2 separate regions of the Homo sapiens genome follow, and region 1 is linked to region 2. The links are contacts of gene promoters, found by promoter capture Hi-C in human tissues and cell types (Jung and others, 2019). All regions are on one chromosome and are shown on one strand. The core of a region is centred on a gene start or on the middle of the fragment in contact, and the rest is flanking DNA. Distances in the headings are between cores, read along the strand shown. Region 1 overlaps RAB10 (RAB10, member RAS oncogene family). Region 2 holds the start of RAB10 (RAB10, member RAS oncogene family).

What was found. The method cuts DNA at HindIII sites, captures the fragments that hold promoters and counts their contacts. A contact is called where the count stands out against the background at its distance.
Region 1: a contact is called between a fragment that was not itself captured here and the fragment with the promoter of RAB10 in region 2, in 3 of the 25 tissues and cell types used here (H1 embryonic stem cells, liver and pancreas).

What each region holds. Positions count from the first base shown.
Region 1 is chr2:26,081,939-26,084,638 of GRCh38, reverse strand. The region is part of intron 1 of RAB10 (RAB10, member RAS oncogene family); the gene reads right to left. The region is part of intron 1 of LOC105374333 (a long non-coding RNA gene); the gene reads right to left. Among named protein-coding and RNA genes, the nearest start is that of RAB10, 49 kb to the right of the region's middle. The HindIII fragment of the contact is 7,743 bases long and covers 1-2,700 here.
Region 2 is chr2:26,032,655-26,035,354 of GRCh38, reverse strand. RAB10 (RAB10, member RAS oncogene family) reads right to left here and starts at 1,271. Exons shown (of 6, transcript NM_016131.5): 1 at 620-1,271. The coding sequence starts at 746. It overlaps LOC124907743 (a long non-coding RNA gene), which reads left to right and starts at 1,606. Exons shown (of 2, transcript XR_007086249.1): 1 at 1,606-1,677; 2 at 2,694-2,700. RefSeq lists an enhancer at 1,016-1,065 and a silencer at 1,376-1,605. The HindIII fragment of the contact is 17,562 bases long and covers 1-2,700 here.

The DNA of each region.
Region 1 (2,700 bases), core at 177-2,676, 49 kb before region 2:
TGAGGGATGAATTCCATGTGCACACTTTTGTATTCCTCTGGGACATACTGCTGCAATCAACTGTAATAATAATGTACTTGGTATACCATGTACCAAAAACACGTACCATGTACCAAAACATGGTGTACCATGTACCAAAACATAATACACTAGGGAAAAGCACATATGACCCAACATGATTTCCTCATTATTGCGATATCATTCACTTTTTAACAATTGGCTATAAGCTAATTCACATTATAGTAACATGAGTTTCAGTAGGGTAAACCACACTTACTACACACTTGGCAATGAATAAGGCAAAGTCCTTCTGTTGGGGGAACTTATGAAAGGGTATTACCCATTCCCCCCAATTTCAAATCTCTGATGTTAGTAATAATAAATCCTATGAACAAGAACAGGAGGAAGAGCTATCTTATATGAGGTGGTCAAGGAATGACGCACTGAGAGATATTTGAGCAAAGACCTTAAGGTAAGGGAACAGGCCATGTGACTATTTGGGGAGAGTGTTCCAGGCAGAGAAAATAACAAGTACAATGGATTTGACATGCAAATATGTTTGGCATGTTCAAGAAACACAGGGAGCATTTTGAGCAGAGTGATGTGAGCCTTCTAATCCATGAATACGGTATAGCTCTCTTTATTTGGGCTGTCTTTAGTTCTCTCAGCGATATTTTGTAGTTTTCCATGTCTAAGCCTTGCATATATTTTTAAAATTTATCCCCATTTCATTTTCATTTGTTGGATGCTATTGTAAATAATATATTTTTACATTTCATTTTCTCATTGTTTGCTGCTAAACACAGAACTCCAATTGATTAAGCAGGTGCAGCTGCTCACGCCTGTAATCCCAGCACTTTGTGGGGCCGGCGTGGGCAGATCACTTGAGGCCAGGAGTTCGAGACCAGCCTGGCCAACACAGCAAAACCCAGTCTCTACTAAAGATACAAAAAATTAGCCCAGTGTGGTGGCACACACCTGTAATCCCAGCTACTAGCATACAAAAAATTAACCGGGTGTGGTGGCACACACTTGTAATCCCGGCTACTGCAGAGGCTGTGGCATAAGAATTGCTAGAACCTGGGAGGCGGAGGTTGCAGTGAGCTGATATGGTGCCACTGCACTCCAGCCTGGGTGACAGAGTGAGACAAAAGGAAAGTACAGGGAAGGAAAGGAGAAAGGAGGGGAAGGTTTTGGGGGAGGGGAGGGAAGAGGGGAAAGCTGAGGGGGAAGGGAGGGGAGGGGAGAGAAGAGAGAAAAGAGAAAAAAGAAAAATAATACAATTGGTTTTGGTACACTGACCTTGTATCCTGCAACCTGTTACATTCACTTATTAATTCTAGTTGCTCTTTTTTTGTGGAGAAGGTAGGTTATTTAGGATTTTCTATGTATATAACAACACAGTCTAAATAAAGGCACGTTTACATCTTCTGACTTATTTCTCTTGCTTTATTTTATTATCTACAACCTCTAATATACTGTTGTTCTTTATTTGACCTTAGGAAGCTCTAGACTAAATGCTCTGCCATTAAAGTGTGTTAACTGTACAAAATTTAGCACATTAAACAAATGTTCCTGTTCCTAGATTCCTGAGTTATCATGAGGTGTATTTCATCAAATGCTTTGTCTATGCCTACTATGATGGTATGATTTTTCTTCTTTACTCCATTAAGGCAGCTAATTACTTTGATTTTAAATGTGAAACCAACCTTGCATTCCTGGAATAAAGTCCATTTGAGTCATGATGTATTATTCTTTTCATAAATTCCTGGATTTGGTTTGCAATTATTTAGTTAATAATTATTATGTTCTTGAAAAAAATCTCTATGTTCATTAGGGATAGGTCATATCTTTAGTTTTAGTATCCAAGACAAGGCTGATCCCATAAAACAACTTGGAAAGCATACCCTCTTGCATTTATTGGAAGAGTTTAAGATTCATATTGTTTCTTCTTTAAACATTTGATATAAATCACCAGTGAAGCCATTTGGGCCTGAGGTTTCTTTCAGAAAGGTTTTAAATTAAGATCTCATTTCTTAAATATATGTCTACTTATTCTATCAATTACTAAGAGAGGACTGTTAAAATATCCAACTATACAATTATAGATTATTTCTCCTTCCAATTCTGTCAGTTTTTGCCTCAAGTATTTTGATATTCTGTTATTAGGTATATATGACAAACTGACCCCTTTATCATTATAAAAAGATCCTCTTTATTTCTAGAAATATACTCCTTGCTCTAAAATCTACCTTGTCTAATATTAATATAGCACTCCAACTTTAAGATTTGGTCGCTGATTAGATGTGCCCAGTATATTTTTTAGTAGTTTCTCTAAGGCTCATAATAAACATCGTAACTAGAACCATCTACCTCCAAATGGTATTATACCACTTTTAACATAATATAAGAACCTTACAGAATTATACTTCCATTTTTTCCCCTTCCCATCATTGGGCTATTATTGTTTTTTAAAATTTCTTTGTTACACTTCTACATTTTACTGCTAAGTGCTATAAATCCTATAAAACATTAAAATATTTTACTGTAAACAATTATCTTTTAAATAAATTAAAAATTGAGAAGAAATATTTTCTATTTCCACACATTTTTACCATTTCCTGTCATCTTCATTCCTTTTGTGTAAGTTTCGATTTCCATCCGGAATAATTTTTTTCAGGCTAAAACACTTCCTTTAAC
Region 2 (2,700 bases), core at 22-2,521:
CTCAGATTACTGCTTCTGTTGATGTCTCGAAAAGCACTGAGGCAAATATGCCAGAGTCCCACCCCAAGCGCGAAGAGCCTCCGATTGTTTGACACATCAATGGATTAGTGAATGAGGGCAACTCACTCTTCCCTTCTAATTTACCTTAATTATTCTTCTCAGAAACCCTCAAGTTTACTCTAAGTTATCACCATATGGAATCTTTTCTTTGCCCCAAAGTATAAATTCAGGCCTTTCCCAAATAGCTAGTACTGCTTCAATCGCAACCACTGAAATAAATACCTTAAAAATATCACACATCTACTAATTCCACGCAAATGTGGAAAAAGCCAGTCCAGTCGCCTGAAGAAATAAGGTTCTGGAACATGGTTAAATGATGCATATTTTGTAACAGAAGGCACTGAGCATAGTGGGAGACTCGAAAGCAAAAGACCGGATGGAAATCATGGGAAGACCCCGCCCCAGTAAGCTCGATGCCGATTCAAACAGTAACTTGGATGTGTCGTTTGGAATCGGAATCACTGAAACAAAGGCGTATATTACGGGAAGCAAGATGTCTGGAGTAAAATAAACGGTATGCAGCTACCGAGACCGTACACCGTCCTCCCACAGGTCTTACCTATGGTGGAAATAAAGGTAGTATTGAAGGCATCATCCGAAAAACGAAAAAGGACGCAGGTCTTCCCCACTCCGGAATCCCCGATCAGGAGCAGCTTGAAAAGCAGGTCGTACGTCTTCTTCGCCATTGGGAGGAGCGGCTCGGGCTCTCGCCGCCGGCGGCCCCAAGGGATCGGTCCCTCTCACTACGGCCAACTCCTCACTCGGGCGTTCTCAGGCCGGAGGACCGGGGAAGCGTGGGAAAAAGGCTCGAGACGGCGCGGGCGACCTACGAACAGCTTTGAGGAAGCCCCGACAGTGGCGGCGTCCAGTGCCTCCGAGGGCGGCGACCGCGGCTCCGCAGCCTCTCCCAGCCCGTCCGCCCGGTTCCGGGGAGTCGGTCGGGACAAAATGGCCTCCCCTCCCCCCTCAGGGCTTCTCGGCCGGGACGCTCCCACGGGCGAGCAAGCCTGCTCTGCCGTCGAGGAGGCGCAGCGGGCGTGAGGACAGTCTCTCTCCCGAGCGGAAACTCCCTGCTAGCACGCGGCGAGGGCAGCGAAGAAGGACCCCTAAGTCGACGAGCTCAGTTACATAGCCCCAGGAAACCGAGCCACCCCGGCCAGAGCCACCTTTTCCCCGTGCCCTCTCACGCCGGCGTGCGCGCTGCCTGAGACGCACGCAAGGGCGTACGCCCGCCCTTCCCTCACGCCCTAGCCTTGCGGTCCGCCTCTGCGCACGCGCACAAGAGGGCATGGGGGCGCGCCGAAGTGGCGAGTGGAATGCTCCTGTCTCCAAGCCTCAGTCTGAGGCTGGACCCAGAGGGGAGAAGGGAGGGGCGAGAAAGGGCGAGGCCGCGGGCGCGCTCCCTGTGGCCGCCTGATAGGGTGCGCGGCGTTACGAGCACGCCCCGGGGGAGACGCTACCTAGCGACTGCGCAGGCGCAGCGCCCCCCCTCCGACCCCCGCCTCCCGCCTCCCGCTCCCCGCTCCCCGGGACACCCTTACAGAGCCCAGCACCTCCTTCCCCTCCCGGGGTCTCCCGCTGGACTGCGCTGCGGTTTCTCTGCACAGCGCTTGTCGGGTGTGTTGAGCTGGAGGTCTTGGCGCAGCGACGGGCTTGGGTGGCCATGTGTTCCCGTGTAGGTGGAGCTCGTAAACGCGAGAAAAAGCCGCGCCCTGGGTCATTTAATAGCCTCTTTGCTAGAACGAGACGCCTCCCGGCGTGCCCCCTCTCCAGGGCCAGCCCTGACGGGGAAACATGAGCGCTCCATCCGGATTGACTTCAAGAGCAAGAGTTTGAGATGGAAAAGCTGGCCACGCCGCTCGGGTTGGGATGAGGTAATCCTCACAACCTCTTCCTGGGCGAGGAGAGGAAGGTTGAGGAACACCTGGGCGCAGGAAGAACCTCCCTGCGAAGTGGAGGGTTCTGTGCGGTGCTCAGAGAACCTGCTTCAGGCCTTTGCCGTCCTTCAGGAATCCGGGAGAACCCGAGAGCGCTCTGCAGAGGAGGTGGGGCCTCTGCCTGCCGCCAGCGTCGTACCACTGGGTTGAAAATTGAAAGGTGGTCAAGCCTACTCCCAGTCCGACACAGCCTGCTTCCTCGCATTTTCTTTTTCTTTTTTTCTTTTCTTTCTTTTTTTTTTTTTTTTTTTTGAGATGGAGTTTCGCTCGTTTCCTCGCATTTTCTTTTTCTTTTTTTCTTTTCTTTCTTTTTTTTTTTTTTTTTGAGATGGAGTTTCGCTCTTGTTGCCCAGGCTAGAGTGCAATGGCACAATCTCTGCTCACTGCAACCTCCACCACCTGGGTTCAAGTGATTCTCCTGCCTCGGCCTCCCAAGTAGCTGGGATTACAGGCATGTGCTACCACGCCCGGCTAATTTTTTGTATTTAGTAGAGACGGGGTTTCACCCTGTTAGTCAGGCTGGTGTCGAACACCTGACAGGTGACCCGCCCGCCCCGGCCTCCCAAAGTGCTGGGATTACAGGCGTTAGCCCCCGCGCCCGGGCCCTCGCATTTTCTTTGCATTTGCTTTACCTTCTGTTCTCTCTCCCCATCAGTCCTGTTTACGCCACCCTTTTTCTCTCCTACCCTTCTGTAGTTGCAGT